Linked DNA regions of Homo sapiens: all the other regions are linked to region 2. The links are contacts of gene promoters, found by promoter capture Hi-C in blood cells and fetal thymus (Javierre and others, 2016). All regions are on one chromosome and are shown on one strand. The core of a region is centred on a gene start or on the middle of the fragment in contact, and the rest is flanking DNA. Distances in the headings are between cores, read along the strand shown. Region 1 overlaps ARMC3 (armadillo repeat containing 3). Region 2 holds the start of COMMD3 (COMM domain containing 3). Region 3 overlaps LOC107984215 (a long non-coding RNA gene). Region 4 overlaps ARMC3 (armadillo repeat containing 3).

The links. Contacts are between HindIII fragments. The CHiCAGO score rates a contact against its expected background, and 5 or more counts as called.
Region 1: a fragment that was not itself captured here is called in contact with the fragment with the promoter of COMMD3 in region 2 in 2 of 17 cell types (M1 macrophages and M2 macrophages); the score reaches 5.8 in M1 macrophages.
Region 3: a fragment that was not itself captured here is called in contact with the fragment with the promoter of COMMD3 in region 2 in 1 of 17 cell types (activated CD4 T cells); the score reaches 5.5 in activated CD4 T cells.
Region 4: a contact is called between a fragment that was not itself captured here and the fragment with the promoter of COMMD3 in region 2, in 9 of 17 cell types (fetal thymus, activated CD4 T cells, non-activated CD4 T cells and 6 more). The highest score is 11.0, in fetal thymus.

The regions. Positions count from the first base shown.
Region 1 is chr10:22,968,387-22,972,493 of GRCh38, reverse strand. ARMC3 (armadillo repeat containing 3) reads right to left here. Exons shown (of 19, transcript NM_173081.5): 8 at 4,005-4,107. Among named protein-coding and RNA genes, the nearest start is that of ARMC3, 42 kb to the right of the region's middle. The HindIII fragment of the contact is 2,764 bases long and covers 224-2,987 here.
Region 2 is chr10:22,313,900-22,318,322 of GRCh38, reverse strand. It overlaps COMMD3 (COMM domain containing 3), which reads right to left and starts at 1,935. Exons shown (of 8, transcript NM_012071.4): 1 at 1,767-1,935; 2 at 328-439; 3 at 155-218; 4 at 17-51. The coding sequence starts at 1,905. COMMD3-BMI1 (COMMD3-BMI1 readthrough) reads right to left here and starts at 1,935. Exons shown (of 14, transcript NM_001204062.2): 1 at 1,767-1,935; 2 at 328-439; 3 at 155-218; 4 at 17-51. The coding sequence starts at 1,905. RefSeq lists an enhancer at 1,388-1,687 and a silencer at 1,958-2,077. The HindIII fragment of the contact is 1,853 bases long and covers 1,389-3,241 here.
Region 3 is chr10:23,087,408-23,092,028 of GRCh38, reverse strand. The region is part of intron 1 of LOC107984215 (a long non-coding RNA gene); the gene reads left to right. Among named protein-coding and RNA genes, the nearest start is that of MSRB2, 5.9 kb to the left of the region's middle. The HindIII fragment of the contact is 948 bases long and covers 876-1,823 here.
Region 4 is chr10:22,989,974-22,994,487 of GRCh38, reverse strand. All of the region lies in intron 10 of ARMC3 (armadillo repeat containing 3), which reads right to left. Among named protein-coding and RNA genes, the nearest start is that of ARMC3, 64 kb to the right of the region's middle. The HindIII fragment of the contact is 3,186 bases long and covers 192-3,377 here.

The DNA.
Region 1 (4,107 bases), core at 356-2,855, 650 kb before region 2:
TTAAGTGCCAGAAAGGATTTAAAGACTATCTGCTTGAATTCCTTTCTATTACAAATAACCAATTTCAACAAATGATGCTAGGAAAAATTTATGTCTACATGAAAAAGAACGAACTGGGACCATAATTTTATACCCTATATAAAAATAAACTCAAAATGGATCAAGACCTAAATATAAGAGCTACAGCTACAAAACTCCTAGAAGAAAACATAGGGCAAAAGCTTTGATATTTGGTAATGAGTTATTGGATATGACACCAACAGCAAACAGCATAGCCAACAAAATAGATAAATTGGAATGCACCACAATTTAAAACTTTTTGCATCAAAGCACACAATCAACAGAGTAAAAAGGCAAACCACAGAATGGGAGAAACTGTTTTCAAATAATATCTGATAAGGGGTTAATATCCAGAATATATAAAGAACTTCTGTAACTTAGCATCAAGAAAACAACCCAATCAAAAAATGGGAGAAGGACTTGAATAGATGTCTCCAAAGAAGATATGCAAGTGGCCAGTAAGTACACGATAAAGATGCTTGAAGTTGCTAATCATTAGGGCATGCAAATAAAAAGTACAATGAGATAGCACCTCACGCCCATTAGGATGGCTACTATCAACAAACAGAAAATAGCAAGTGTGGGCCAGGATGTGGAGAAATTGGAACTCTTGTGCATTGGTTATGGGAATGTAAAATGGTACAGCTGCTACAGAAAACAATATGGCAGTTTCTCAAAAAAATTAAAAATAGAGGACGGGCATGGTGGCTCACACCTGTAATCCCAGCACTTTGAGAGGCTGAGTTGGGAAGATTGCCTGAGGTCAGGAGTTCAAGACCAGCTTGGCTAACATGGTGAAATCATGTCTCTACTACAAATACAAAAATTAGCTGGGTGTGGTGGTGCGTGCCTGTAGTCCCAGCTACTCAGGAGGCTGAGGCAGGAGAATCGCTGGAAGCCAGGAGGTGGAGGTTGCAGTGAGCTGAGATCACACCACTGCACTCCAGCCTGGGTGATGGAGCGAGACTGTCTCAAAAAAAAAAAAAAAAAAACTAAAAATATAATTACCATATGATTCAGTAACTCCACTTCTAGGTATATATCCAAAATAATTGAAATCAGGGACTCAAAGAGATATCTGTATACCCACATTCTTAGCAACATTATTCACATTAACCAAAAGGCAGATGTAACCAACTGTCCATCCATGGTTGAAAGGATAAACAAAATGTGGTCTATACAGGCAATGGATATTCTTTGGCCCTAAGAAGGGAGGAAATTGTGACACATGCTACAACATGAATGAAACTTAAGGACATCGTGCCAAGTGCTATGCATTTGCAAAAGGACAAATGCTGTATGATTCCATATATATGAGGGATCTAGAGTCATCAAATTCATAGAGACAAAGAATAGTGGTTGCCAGGAGTTTGTATGAGGAAGGAGTGGGAATGATTGTTTAATTGGTATACTTTTAGTTTTGCTAAATGAAAAGATTTCTGTGGATGGACAGCACCACAAAAATGTGAATACATTTAATGCCACTGAAATGTACACTTAAAAATGATGAAGACGGTAAATTTCATAGTATTTGTATTTCACCACAATTTAAAAAGCAAGAATAGGATTGATTCCTTTTCTTCAAGCAAAACCGCTCCCCTTCTTGAGTTCTTCAGTTCTGTGAGTGGCACCATTTTACTTCTAGCTGTCTAAGCCAGAAACCTGGCCTCATCCTTGGTATCGCCTTCTTCCTCTTTCAACCAACATAGTCATTCAAAAATACTCACACATGTGCTGGTGGTTCTCCTTGCAAAGTGCCTTGAGCCAGTCCTGAACACCGCATCTCTGTTTCAGGGCACCTTCACATCTCACCTAGATTACTACAGCAACCCCCTTTTGGTCTTCTGTGTCTGGTCCTAAACATTTCCAATCTCTTCTCCACTTTGCAACACGAGTTCTCTTTCTTTAACAAGTGAAAATCCATGATGTTCCCTCCCTTCTGAGTAACTTCAATGGCTCTTTGTTGCCATTAAAATAAAGTCCAAAATCCTTAACTGGGCTTATAATGTCCATGAGCACTGGGCTCCTCACCACGTCCATAGCCTGAGCGCTCAGTGTTCTGTGGCTTTCTGGTCATTGGCCATTCTGAAAACTTTCGGTTCTGGAACTTACCATGTTATCCCTCCTCTGGCTTTTATACACCCTGTTCCTTCTCAGAACCACTTCTCCTCCTCCATCCCATCTGAACCTTCTTTGACCAGACAATTTATCTTATTTACTCTAGGTCCTAGCTTGTTAATCACTGATTTCAGAAATATTTTTCTGATCCAGGTCTGTGCTGGGAGCCTTCCTGGGTGATCCTGTGTTTCCATCATTAATCACTTTGAACACTGCATTGTAAGTGCCTGTTTACTTTCCTGTTCTGGGTGAGAACTCAGTAAGAAATCATGAGTAAACGAATATATACATTGTTCTGGAGAAGTTATAGTTCACTCAAAATCACTTAAGTAGGTCGTTACAATGCCAGTAGTGGAACTAGTACTAGAACTCTAGTACCAGGAACTCTGCAGCATACTTTCCAGTACTGTGGCACATGATGGGTAGGCATCATCAAACTCACCACCTCAAAATGAGTGAGAACAGTCTTAGAATGACCCAGCCACATTTGATACATATAAATACTCTCCAAAGAGATGCTGAGATACGCAAACATTTCAGGTTTGGCATTGTCCGTGTCTCCCCATTTTACTTCTCTTCGGGTCTCACTTAGCTAAGAAGAACTAGGATAGAAGGAAGAGAGAACTGACCAGCTAGAATAATGTCTAAGTTCCATTTGATAGAATACTGGGTAAACCAACTTTTGCCAATATGAAGAAACCTTGATTTCACAACCAGTCTCTCAAATAGGCATTTATAATGTAACTCATGAGGCCCCTCTATGCACACTACATACTGGATGGTGAAATCTTGCTTACTGCATTAAAGCTTTGTCCTGAAGAAATCCAGTGTGTGCTGAAAATGGAGTGTTTCCCATAGTATACATATCAATATACAGATGTGAGTATATATGTTTAGAATATAAATCACTTAAAATAGTCAATGCTGTCATCATTTCTAAAAGTGGTGCAGAAGGGGAAAAATAAGATCACATCTTTTATTAGATAAAAGACTCCAAATATACATAAATTAAAACTATAATTTCATCTGTGCTTGTGCTGTAATTAATCTCTCATATTTTACAGATTTATATCAACATAACTTGTCACTGAAATGCAAATTGTATTATGTATATAGTATGAGCATATTTTTCACAGCTATGTAACATGGTGCTACTAGACTCCAGCTGAAACTTGAAAATTACTTTATAGATATCATTGTGAATGTGGATTTCTTCAATGCTCTCAGGTTCACAAACAATGCATACCTTCTATATAATTCCAAATTCAAGTGAAACAAAGGCTTAAAACTTAATGTAGAAATGAATTGTATTTTGAAAAATAGGATAATGAAATCATATTGAGTTCTTCATATCCCTGACAAATCTCTAACTCATTGGAAGTGAGATGAGTTTGGACTTAAGTAGTAAATATAGCACTATTCTCAAATGGTTTTTTAAAAGCAGACAAATGCTCTAGTGTTGATTAGTACTAATCAAAATTGAGACAAGAGGAATTATATATGTTTTGTTTATATAAAATAAGACATGGCAGGGTGCAGTGGCTCATGCCTGTAACTCAGTCAAAGTGGGCAGATCGCTTGAGCCCAGGAGTTCTAGACTAGCCTGGGCAACACAGCAAAACCCTGTCTCTACAAAAAATACAAAAATTAGCCAGGCATGGTGGTGCATGCCTGTAGTCCCAGCTACTAGGAAGGCTGAGGTGGGAGAATCACTTGTAACCTGGGGAGGTTGAGGCTGCAGTGAGCTGTGATCACGCCACAGCACTCCAGCCTGAGAAACAGAGCAAGATCCTATCTCAAAATAAATAAAATAAAATGAGACATACGATCATAAGCTGCTTTAGTAATGGCTTTTGCTGCATTCTTCTGAATATCAGGAATTGTAGAGTTTTCTGCAAATGACAGGAGCTTTTTAAGACCCCCTGTCTG
Region 2 (4,423 bases), core at 686-3,185:
CTTATACAGTACCTACCTTCCCAGTAGGATTTCTAGGGAATTCTTATTATTCTGGAGAGAAAAAAGAAAGCAAGAAAGAAAGAAAAAAAAACATCTTTACAAACAAAGTAAAAGAAAAATAGTACTGTTAATTAAAAATTTTAAAGTAAGTAACCTGATATTCCGTGCAAAACAGTTCTATTCGCTCTCTGTCAAATTTACAGTCTTCTAGATAAGTGCTAGAAGAAAGAAAAAAAAAGCCAAAGTTCTGTCTCCATTTTTAAAACTGAAATTGAAATCATTAAGGTAGTATTTGAAAATAAATGGATATTTAAATAAATCCTGTACCTTAGAGTTGACTTGTCAGCTCGGTGCTTTCCTGCCTCTAGTATGTAAGTTGCAGCTGCTGCATGACAATGTTTTAAAACCACTGGGTCGATATGTTTCAAGTCTGGATGATCTAAAATAAATTAACTTCCAGTGATGCCTATGATAATAAATTCTTTACAGTCATGTTCCAAAAAGGATATTTTAATTTGGGTTTAAAAACCCTTTAACAAGATTAAAAACATCAACTATAAGGACAGTCAATTATAAGTAAATGAGATGAGCAACAAGATCAAGTGAAAAACAATAAAAAGAACACAACAAGAACTCTACTATTACTAGCTTCAATTAACTTATTTTGCCTTAATATTTTTACTATTAAAAAATATTATAGCCCCCAAAGAAAATATAACAATGCAATGGTCATTCTAACACTGGAGTAAATTCAAAGGAAAAACAAGATAAATATTTTACATTGTGTCAATTTTAGAATAAACTTCCATCCTAAAAATGATGAGTTTAGGGTAACCGGCTCCATGAACAAATACATCAAGGGGGTAGAAGGTAGGGCATGAGTTCAGAATATAAGATACAAATTTCAAAATTATATTAGTACTTTCAGGGTTTGACAGTCATTTTTTTTTTGAGATTAACCCAGGTGGTGGTTACTATTTTCGTTTAAGAACTTCCACTTTCATACTTTTTGTACAAGTGTTTAGTTCATGAAACTACAGAAAAAAAACAAAAATTTGAATTGTTGGGATATTTATATTTAAGAAAATCATCTAAAAGCGATCGGTCTTAAAATATGTCTTCAATCCATACTGACACTGCACCTCCGCAGTCACTGACCGGATCGCTTAAAAGACACTCGCATCCTGGTAACTGGGGCGGAACAAAGTATTGTGCATCATAGTTTAAGGTTCTAGGCGTAGAACCTGTGTAAACATGCTGAACTAGAGCGCTGGAGTGATCATAGCAACTTGAGGTATGCTCTAAGTTGGCAAATGTCAACACTGTCTGACCTAGTAATTACTTCGGAAACAGACCCTTAAACCTTTGCTAGCCTAGCCCTGGAAGCTTGAATTGCAGGGAGCTCCCCAGATGAAGTCCAACTGTCAAAACAGCCGCAGCCTCAGACAAGGCTAAACACCTTAGATGTTTAGGCCACAAACAAGACTTGAACACCGGCTTTACAAAAGAACAAAGAGACTGGGAGGGAAACCGGGCCAGGAACGTGGAGTTGGCTCTATGCAGGTGCCAAGTGGGGCCAAAACAATGCTCAGAGTCTGCTCCGAGTCCTGGCAGAGCCACGTCCCCAACACTCCGTCCGGAGCGAAGGGCAAAGCCCGGAGACTTCCTCTTCCCGGGGCTTTCCCCTTCTCGCTCCGCCGGCTCCTCTTCTCCGAGCGCCCCTCCACCCCGGCGGATCCAGCTCCGAGCCGAGCCGAGCGGCTTACCTAACACGGCCTCGTCCGCCTGGGCGTCCAGCAGACTCTGGAATGCCGCCCGGAGGAGAAGCGTGAAGGCGTTGGAGTCGAAGGAGCGGGGATCCGCCAGCATCTGGAAGCCTTTCTGCACAGACTCCGAGAGCTCCATTGTGAGCGCGCCGTGACCTTCGACACGCACACCACGTGACACGCGCCGCGCGCTCAGCTGATGCGGCCGCGCGCGCACGCGGCTCGGGGCGGCTGGCGGCGGCGCGGGCTGCGGGGCCTCCCCGCCCGCCTCCGCGCCCGCGCGCGGGTCCCGCGCCCCCAGCCGCCGCCTACGGCCTCCCACCGTTTCCGTCCAGCTCTCGCTTGTCCAGCGCAGGCCGCGGGAGCTGCCGAGCCTTGGCGAGAAGGGCGGCCTCGGGCGTTTTGTGGACGCGCTCGGCGCTTTCTCCTTGGTTCGGCGCTTACCTCGGACGGCCACCAGCTCGGTTCCCTGAGAGACCCCGGGGAGACTGCGGACGGTGTCGGGATCCCGGCCCCCGCCTCCCGCAAACGGCGTCCTCCCCGCTCCTCGCTCTGCGCGAATCCTGCGGGAAGCTCCGATCTCAGGCAACTGGATTTTGCTTTTGTGGTTTTTTGTTTGTTTTGTTTGTTTTTTAGCTCACCAGCTTAACCTCGCAGCACTGCCCTTTTATGAGACTGTAAGACATCTAATTATGTGATTCTTGCTTATTTTTACTTTTTTTTTTTTGTCATTTCTGGAATACGGCAGTAGTGTCCTTCCTGCATGGGGGGTGTGTACACATGCACGCATACATAGAGTTCCTGTATGCACTGCACTCCAGCAATCGGATTAATAAATTATTCATGAACAGATTTGACAGGATTATTAACAATTTTATATGCCGCTGCAAATAAAGCCAACTGCCATACACATTTTGTGCTACTCACCACATCTATGGGTCCCGTTTTAGTTGCTCTATAGAATCTGCATAAATACGTTTTTATTAAACAGCTACCTTAGTAAAGTACAGTTAGGAATGGCAAGATCTTTATTAGAAGTGAGTTACTGTTTAGGATGCTCATACCTTTAAAGATTCAAATACTGTATAAAGTTTAACTTCCTCTCTATTTCTACGAAGTTGGTTTAGAGAACAAGAATGATTCTTTAAAAAACCCGTGAAGCAAAGTAGATTAGGTATTTTTAATCAAAAGCACTTGAAAAGTTAAAAAATGCAAGTTCTTGAAGGGTGGAGGGAAGGGATGCGGAACAACAAAGATGTTTTAGTCTTCAGGAGCGATTATTTGCAACATTAGACCCAAAGTGAAACATTATTTTCTTTTTCTAACTTAGATGTCTGTTTTAAAAATTTTTGATGGATACAGTTGACATTTACCTTGGCACCAATACATAAAGTGTACCTCATTTCACAACAGGATGCAAATGGAGTAAGCATCAGTAACAGATTGAGTAACTACTCAGCCCTCCTTTGAAAGCTTTAAAAGGCACGTGCAGTGGCTCCTCACTCGGTGAGAATATAGTAGCAGTGAAGGATTTAAAAGTCTCCCTAGAGTCTTTATGAAACAAGCACCTATTAATCATGTTCATCTTTTCTTCCCATCACTCATCTTCCTAATTTGTTTCTCATTAGTAGTAAAATGTCAGTTGAAAAACTTCATGATACCTGATTACATAGAGAATAGTCAGGACAGAGTTGTGTAAATGTTCAACAATATTAACAACACCCAAGCTTATTATGTTTATTACACATGTATTTTATGACCTAGTGTAACGTTGATTATTAATACTCTAATAGAATTTGAGTTGATAACTCTAATACTCAATTTAGTGTCAAAAAAGAGAGTATTAATCATGGACATAGATTTTAAAATATTATTTTAAAAGAAAAATAAACACAAGTGGTTGTCAATTTGTGGGCATGAAAGTTAGGAAATTCAGAAGGATTGTTTCCATAATAGCTGTCATATTACTTTGTTGCCCATGTATAAGTACTTTCTCTTAGAATGTTTCCTCCTCTTAGGCCTAAGTATATTCATGTGTTAGGCCTAAGTGATGGGCACATTTTAAGCTCACAAAAATTTTCACCATAATGTGTTCTAATGCTAGAAAAACGGAATTTTCCTACTACAGGTATATTTATTTAAACTTCCTTTGAAGGAGGCACAGGATCGAGTGTTTCAAACGTGTGTCTTTGACAAGTCATTGAAATACATGGAAGTATGATCATCAAAAGGCATGACTACCCAGATGTAGACTCTCTTGGTTACAGCCATAAAGATCAATGCATTTTATGTTAGAAAAACTACATATGAACATATTCTGAAAGTATGAAAATACTGTTTAAAATTTTGCTTTACTCAAAACAGCATTGGAACTTTGACTAAACTTTAAAAAATTCTGCATGCTCAAAGCCAGTAAACTAAATTTGGCTTCCCAAAAGCCTTTTAAAAGAACAATTATGTGCAGCTGAAAACAACAAAATACAGATGCAACCATCTTCACATTAACAATATATCTTGCCTCCTAAACTGCAAATATTAGGTAGACAATGCTGATAAATTTATTTTTCTTTTTGAGAATCTAGAAATCATTTGAAGAACTAGAAGTTACCTTTTTAAACAATGTTTTAGAGTTTCAAGTACATTTGATATCCTTTGAA
Region 3 (4,621 bases), core at 100-2,599, 770 kb before region 2:
CCTTACTGGTCTTAAAATGTCCCCTCTTCTCACCACCATTTATCTGAATCCAACTTAACCATCAAGGCCATGCATTAACCTCACATTCTTGGACACATGGTCTTAGCCTGAACAAAACTCTACTTTATGTTTTCCCTTTTACTTTGTACACTGAGTGGTAGAGACTATCATTTGCCTGGCCGATATCCACTCTCTCTACTTACAAACAGATCTTTGATTTTATTAAGAGTAGCAATATGCCTAGCTAAAATGTTACATCTGTCAGCTCCCTTGTAGTTGGTGGCAATCATATGATGCTGTTATGGGCAATGATAGGAGCAGACATCACTGGGAGCTACCAGGAAAACTAGTTAAAGAGGAGCTGGCTCAGCACTGGACTTTTGCTCTGTCTTTTGTTTCTGCTTGGAAATTAGTCATGATGGCTGGAGCACTGGCAATCTTCTGGTATACATGAAGATGAGACCCACATCTTGATTTTAAAGAAGTAGAAGACATGAAGGAGCCCAGGATTCTGAAGACAGTGTGGAGTCAATATGCTAGTCTTGGATTGCCTGCCTTCAGATTTCCAATTACATGAGAGACCAATAAATCTATATTTTGTTTAAATCACTGTTACTGGGATTTTCTGTTTCATGAAGTTGACACAGTGTATATCTGATGTCCTGAATTTGATTGTGAGAATCTTCAGGAAAGGCAAAATTCTATAACTTTGACTCTTTGTATATCCAACACACTTCTCTGCAAACTATAAATTTGATAATAAAATCCCTAAAAGATAGGATAGAATGACCAAAAAATGGGAGATAAGTGCAAAAGCCAATTTGCTTTTCCCTACCAAAAACCATTTGGGAAAGAATGAGGGACTGGAATAAGCTTTACACAATTAATCTGCACTGAAAATACTTTATCTGCTTCCATCTGCCCAAAGTTCAATGTCGATACTCATTTTTGTTTTACCTCAATCTAGAGAATTCCTAGAAACTAACCAACTGGAACATCTAATATATATAAAATATAGTTTTAAAGCTCTAAAGGCAGTGAATGAAGACTTAAATAAATGGTTCGATAGAAAAAAATAGCATGGGATAAGCTCTGGGTTCAATTTCTAGGTGTTCTCCTAAGCAGATACAGATGTTTTGGACAAACCAGTCTCTGGGCCTTGGTTTGATTATCTGGAAAATGACACGAATACAGGGGAGGGTGGCCTAGAACTAGAACTCAAATTATATCTCAACTCTCTTCAGTCTGTAATTATATGACGGGTGGTGAAAAATGGAAAGATACACTTGCTGACCAAAGAGCTGAAATTACGAAGGTTAAAATACATTCAACTTATAGATTTAAGCTATGTCACTTATAATCCCAATGGATTACTTTACAGGAATTGAAAAAATAACAACTGAAATAAATGTGGATAAAAATAGACTTTTATGTTAAAGATAATATTGGAGAAGTAGCCTCTCACATGTTAAAAGTGCTTATCAAGGAAGAGTAGATATGAAAACAGTGTTCTGATTGAAATAATAACCAAAAAATAGTCCAGAGAGATAAGAGGTTCCAGAAATTAATACATATTTAACCTATTAGAAACAAGGGGATATAAAATTATTCAGTATATTTTTTGTGGGAAAGTGACTATCAATACAGGGGAAGTAACCTTGGCGTCTAAGGCTTAGATGAATAATTCACTTCAAAAGAATTATTTTTTGAGTTAAAAGTAGTATGTGGATATGTGTATCATGTCAGAGCTCAGAGTACAATACCCCCCAAGTATGGTGCTCTGGTATGCTGAGCATTTTTGAATTAAATGAAATTGGAAAGCTTTAGAAGCTGCCTCAGAAACAACGACTTTCTAACTTTTTATTTCTTCCCCACAAGTGAAGAGAAGGGCTTTCTCCCACTGAGTCTTCCAAAAGAAGTGCAGTTGTCTTAAGATCTCTTTACTAGGAATCTTATCAGATAACCAGGAAAGATTAACTACTGGAGAAGAGGAAAGACTAAAAGTCATCACTATGCCCTGAAACACTTTTTATCTGTTCTTCTGATGGCACCTCTGAGAGATTACTTTATTATTTAAGATTTATTTAAGATTATTTAAATATTTACTATTTAAATAAAAATTAAATGCATAATAGGACAACCTTTGTTCACAGTACAGTTCTGCCCCTCACCTTCCCATAACTGTGGGTCCCATTCTTCTTCCGAAAAGAATAATTCAAAAACTACTGTCTGCTCTTTGGGCCTATTCAATTTTCCTGAAAATTATTTACAATCCCTCAAAATTGCCTAAGTTTCCGCCATCGCCCTCTTCCCTATGAAGAAGATATATAAGTTTCAACAATTTGGCCTTTCTTTGAGTCTCATATTTGTGGGGGTCTTGTGACCATGTGCACTTTAATACATTTGTATGCTTTTTCTTCTGCTACTCTATTGTCAGTTTATTTCAGCAGTCTCACTTCAGAGGGAAAGTTTAAACTTCCCTACCACACATACACAAACACACACACACACACACACACGAAATAAAACAATACTGCATACATCCATTTTGAAATAAAAATAATTTTTGGACAATAAAAGCAATAAAAGGAGTTAGCACTGAACAAATGATAAGGTTGACAGGTTCAAGTGAATGAAATTTAAGTACATACATACATACCACAAGATGAAGAACAAAAAATGATTACTCTCAAATTAGAAAAATTAAAATGATAAAAATACGAGAGTATTGTAATACACATAACAGTAAACATTTAACATTATATATATTAGGGAAATTAATATTATCTATATGGCCAATTTCAGGTCTGACTGGACAGATGGTTAAAGAATATGAACAGATGGTTTGCACAAGGAAAAATACAAATAGTGAACAAACACTTGGGAAAATGTTTGGCTTCCATAATAATTAAAGAATTAAAAATTAAAATGGCCTAATATATTGCCTCATGCATATTAAATTATTAATAATAGTGTTTTTTTGGAATTAAAGCTACCAGAGCTTTAAGAACTCATACACTGTCTGTAGAAATAGGGTCATACTTTTTCTGGAAAGAAATCTGACAACATGTACTAAAGATGACAATTTGGCAAATTGGCTTTGTGGAGCAAATCCCAAGGGAAAAAATCAATAGTAAAGAAAGCTCCAGTTTTGCAGAGAAGTTTACAGTTATGCTTTTCATAATGGCAGATGAATCCAGAGTCATTAACAGCCAGGAAATGACTAAGTAAATCTTGACATAGCAATACAATGAAACATTATATAGCCATTAAAATGTCAAATATGAAGACTACCTGGATTTATGGAATGGTCTGCATGAAATAATGTCAAGGAGAAAAAAGTAGAATACAAAATAGTTCATACTTGACAGTAAAAGTGGGTAAAAGCATGCACATGGAACCAATCTCTACTGAGGCATACCATTTTGGAAGAGGTTAGGATTGTTTGGTGAAAAGATACTTCTTTTGTACTTTTCTCTTCAAGTGACTTTTTACATTTAACAAAATTTCATTTTAGATAAATTAGAAAACAGAAGCATGTAAAGAAATTATTGAACACTGTCTCAAATCATTACTGATAATATTTGGTGTATATATTTATTCAATCTTTTTTAAGTATACTGTAATTGATGGCTGATAGTTTAATTACTTTCCCTTCCTTCTGAACTATACTCTGATTCTTCTTTGAGAAACAACTCCCCTTCCCATTCTCAGTCATGAAATTTAGATAAGATGGCTCCAGAGCAGAATTTCACAACCTCAGCACTATGGACATTTTGGGCCAAATAATTCTTTGGTGAGCGTATGGGTGGGTCGGGGGGCATAGGTTTCAATTGTCCAGTGCATTGTAGGATATTTAGCAGCATTCCTGGTCTCCACCTCCTAAATGCCAGTAGCATCCTCTTCCCGTGTGACAACTAAAAATGTCTCCAAACATTGCCAGATGTTCCCTTAGGGGAAAAATCACCCACCATTTGTTGAGAAGCACTGATCTAGACTTAGACCCTGATTGACTTAAGCCACTTAACTGATTCCATCCTATTACCCTCAAGGATATGATCAGAGATGGACACACAAGCCAAACAGAACCGCCAAGGAGCAAGAAATCAATTGTCTGCCGAGCCCATGGGGAAAGAATGACAAAGTTCATTCTTTCCCTGGTCAGGACAGTGCGAGAATGAGAGCTGAGATCTGGAAGCATGAGGAAGAGTCTGTCGTTTTGGTGACTGGGCTAGGGAACATAGTGTAATACTAATGACAAAAACAATCACTTGGAAAACAGAATAGAGCGGTGTGGAGAATCTGAGTCATTGGTGATGTTGTTTGAGCTGCTAGAACTCACCTGAAGGTTACATCTTGATTTTTCATCATCTTAATAAATTTCCCACTGTCTTTTTAAAAGTCAGTTTGAAATGGGTCTTTTATCTTTAGAACCTATAGGTCTAATTGAATTATATTTATATTTTTTCACTTAATTTTTCAGGAGTATCTTTTTTTTATTTTTTATTTTTTATTTTTTTTTTGAGACAAGGTCTCATTCTGTTGCCTAGGCTGGAGTGCAGTGGAGAGATCAGGGTTCACTGCAGTCTTGACCTTCTGGGTTCAAGTGATCCTCCCACCT
Region 4 (4,514 bases), core at 535-3,034, 680 kb before region 2:
GGCCTCAAGCAATCCTGCCACCTCGGCCTCCCAAAGTGCTGGAATTACAGGAGTGAGCCGCCATGCCTGGCCTACCCCCAAATTTCTGACATGGCCTCCAAGGCCTTACACAAGCGGCCCCCACTTCTCACGCCAGCCCCATGCACCCCCAGCCCCTCGCCGCCTCTTCCTGTTGCTCCGTGCTCTAAGCTTCTCTTGCAGCCTTCAATATGCCAGGCTCTTTCCCACATCAGGGCTCCCCTGCGCTCTTCCCATTTCCTGACATCCTCTTCCCCCAGGACAATGCCCAGCCCTCTTTCACAGCTCAGCACAAATGTCTTTTCCTCAAGGAGGCACTTCTGGATCCCCAAAGGAGATTTCTTTTTAACATGAGCTCAGAGCATTTGTGTGCTAAATATACACATTTCTTTTTGTTTAAAAATATGATGTTCTGGCATAAATGTTTACATCAGAAAAAAGTAACAATTTAAAAATGTTATTTTGCAGCACTCATGAATGGAATTCAGCAGATTTTTCATTCAAATGCCCAAGCCCCACAATAAAAGAGCACTTACAGAAAGGATGCTAAGAACATCACTGAGGAAAAATTCAAACACAAATAGCGTCTATGGCTCACTAAAAATATTGTGCGATTTCATGTCTGTGTCTTTGCACTTGTGGTCCCTTTGTCCCAAACACCCTTCCCTATCCCTCTGGCACTTGTGGCTGGAGAACACTAGCTCATTCTTCACTCTCTGCTTACCTGTCCCTTCCTCTGCAAAGTCATCTGTGACCATCACGGCCCTCCTTGTTAATCACTCCCTCTGCTGTGCTATGTCTGTACCTGGTACTTACCTCTTAGAGGTAATATTTGAGTCTTATTTATATTTCCGGTGCTGAGAAGATCAATGTATTTTAATTGACTCGAATCAACTCAAGGTGAGTGAGCAGAAATTCGCTGCAGGTATCAAGAAGAAGGGAGGGGGAAAGTGCTTAGCTCAGCTTTAAGTTTGCAAGAAGGGATAGGATCCAGCAACACTGCGATTTCCAGTTTTATCACTTACAGCTGCTCTTGAAATTGGTTCATTTCCTCCCTGCCCTCATGCTTCTCCAATTATACAGTGAGGTAATTTTTAGATGGTATTCAAGAAATAAAATTTTACACTTTAGACAACTTCTTGGGAATATATTCTTCTCTTTTATCAAGGGATGTCTCTATTTTGTCTTTGCAGACATTGTTGACTCTGTTTATTTTAGTGTGCACCAGTTGACACCATTTGGTACCTTTCAGAGTTGAATCCTTGCTTCAATTTGAGGTTCACATTCAACCCAACTGCAAAGTCTAGTAACATGAATCAAGGGTGACCTTGGGCAGAACAGAAATCTGTTTAACAGAGCCCACATACAGGGTAATATGTGGAACCCGATGGAACAGATGGTGATATTGGCAATAAGAACCTTGTTTGTTAACAGTGATTACAACCATTCCCACCAGCATGACTTTTCATGTCTCCGTGAGTTTTGTCACACCAAGGAAGACATATTGGCGGCAGACACTCTGCAAGTGGTCAGGGGCGGTGTGTACGCAGCAGCAACTCAGAGCTGGCATTTTTAAGCCTTGCCGGCTGCAGGAAGTCTGAACAGGTGGAACACTGGCCGTTATGATAAACAGGTCTCCTGGTTATCACAGCCAGATTTGGAATGCTGTAAACAGAATTCCTGACTCTTGTTCCAGCCAGTTTCTCAACAAAGGTAATGATCCAAGAAGTGGAGTGTGTTTGCTAAATTGGTCAATTTCTGAGTCCAGAACAAGGATCATCCCGCCACAGCCCCACAGCTACAGGACGCTAGTATATGTGCCCCTAAACTCTGGCTGAACTCCAGGTTGACAAAACTAGCCAAGAGAATGTTCTTCTTTTAAAGAAATATTATTTAAGAAGTTTTTCACAATTAAGGGAGACAACCAATTAATTGTAGGCTTATGCTTAAAATGAAGGTTTTAAAATTAACATAATTAAAGTAAAGCCTAGCCACAGGGAAAAAAATGTGTTTGCATCTATAGCAAAATAAGAAAAATGCCCCCCGCAAAATGCTAGGAAATATGTGAAACCGAATTGATTACATCATATTGATGCACCTTAGCAGGTTTCATTTTGAGACTTTCAGAATTCTCTTTGATGTTGCAGCCGCGGTGACATTATGCTCTCTCAAAGAGAACAGCATGACTGCAAAGAGAATAGTGAGTGCTACCCCAGCACTTCCACAAAGAGCATGCATGTTTTTGCTACCGATTTTGAGGCAGTCAATCAAAGTCTGGGGAAATCAAATGTAATTTCCTCCCAAGTGACACAGAGCCTTTATTGACCTATCTGTTCAATCACAATACTTCACTTCCATACATGCTACCTTGTTTCAAATGCTAGAATGCCCTACTCATAATTAACTACCTGCCATCAGCAAAAAACAACTCTCTTTTGCATGGCTGACTTGTCTCCTAATAAAATAGAAATGATGGTCAAGGAGTTAGGATATTCATAATAAATGACTTTTGCAGCTACCAAATGTTTCTGTTTAGCCTGGAAATCAGCGTATTTACATATCTGTCAATGACAAGGGATACAATCCCAAAGTAATTAGAGATACCATGTTGTTGATTTTCTTAACTAAATAATAAGGATGCTGAATGCTCTAGTGCCACAGCAAACAAAAAAAAATCCCTGCGCTTGCCAGGACTGGTTTATTCTCAGCAGCTCAGATGTCACTTTTTCAGAGAGCCCTTCCTTAACAAGCCCTGTATCATTCTCTAGGCCCCTTCCTAACCCCGGGGCCATGGCCCTCTTTCCACATTGTGCTGTTTGAAGTTTACCTATACTGTAACAATTCTGCAATTACCATTTTAAAATTACTTGTGTACTGCTGGCCTCCCTGACTGAAATGTAGGCCTGATGTGTTCCTTTCCTGTGGTACCCCAAGAGCCTAGCACAGTGCCCAGCAGGTAAAGGATACCCAGATAATGGTAGAATCATTACCAAAAAAAAAACCTAAAACAAAACAAAAAAGAAAAAACAAAAAAAAACCTACAGTCAAGGTGGTAAGTTCCCTGTATTTTGGGGTGAAATGATAACAGCTGTACCGACGGATCACATCCGGCCCCCAGTGGAAGAAGCTGGATTCCAGACTCCCTGTGATACTGGCTAGGGGGTAATCTCTTACATGCACAAAATACAGTAGATTATATAGATTCATTTTTACTTGTTTGTTTCATAGTCAAAAAAGACAGGATGCAGAGAGACTAAAACTTGCTCAAAGGTAAGTTAATCAACAGAGACCGGAAAAACAAACACATGGTTTTCTGACCTTTAATTTATTAGTTTTTACATTTTTCAACCTCTTAAGCTTTAAAAAGTATAGTATTTTCAGGAAAACAAAAACCAAAAGAATTTACTTGCTTTAGGACATCATTCCTTAGGGAATGGAAAATGAGAAGGAGGAGGAGGCAGAGGAAGCAGAGAGGAGGAGGCAGAGGAAGCAGAGAGGGGGAGAAGGGAGACTAGGGAAAGGAACCCGGGGAAAAAGGTGGAGGGAGGGTCAGAAGCAAAGAGAAAGGGAAAGGAAGGGATGAAAGATGATTTCAAGGTGCCTACTGGAGTGAGTACAAGGAGTGCTGGAGGAATTCAAAGAGATCATGAATTTCAGCACAAGGGAAATTTCTGGTGGGGAAAATGTGGAGAAGTTAAGGGTCCTGGAGGCACTGATGAGGAAAGAATGAGAGAAAAGTTGCCGGGGTGGAGAGTAAGAGGTTCAGCTCCTACCAGCTCCCTGGGGACCTACAGAACAGACCACCTCTGTGACTGTGAGTAAGCACCGGGCCTTGGTTTCCTCATCTGCAAAATGGGCATGACAATAATATTCCTTCCCCCATAGGACTGCTCTGGGATTTAATGATATATTCCACTCAAGGACTTAGCTTAATACCTGGCCGATAACTGCTAGCTTTCAACAACATCATCATCCTCTTAACATTCAGTGAGCCACAAGGGTAGAGAGTTTCAGATCATGGAAACGTAAGATCATATTGTAAAACTTGTGTGTGTGCATGAAAATTTCATTTTCAGACAATTTTTAGCTAAACAGCAAAATCTCCTACACCTGCAGAGCTAGAGCTGGGGCAGTTTCCTCAGAAATCCTACTCAAGCCTTTCACTCAAGTGTAATCAATGAGTGGTAAGGACCATTTCCAGTGTGAAGAAAAATCAAGAGAAATGATTAACATAAAAAGTCAAGGGTTGGTAAAAATAACCTTATATAGGTTTAAGTATGCTTCAAATTGGAAGTGGGGGGGGGAAATCACACAATATAAAGATTTCCTCTGAAAATCAGTAATGTTGGAAATTAAACCTGAAAGAGAGTACTAGCAACTTTAAAACGAGGTTATGCAAATATCAGTCTCTGCACTGTAGGTAATAAAAGTAGCATGGATAATTTTCTAATTGAACATTTTATGGGATTCACTTGGCCTCACAAAATCAGTAGCTA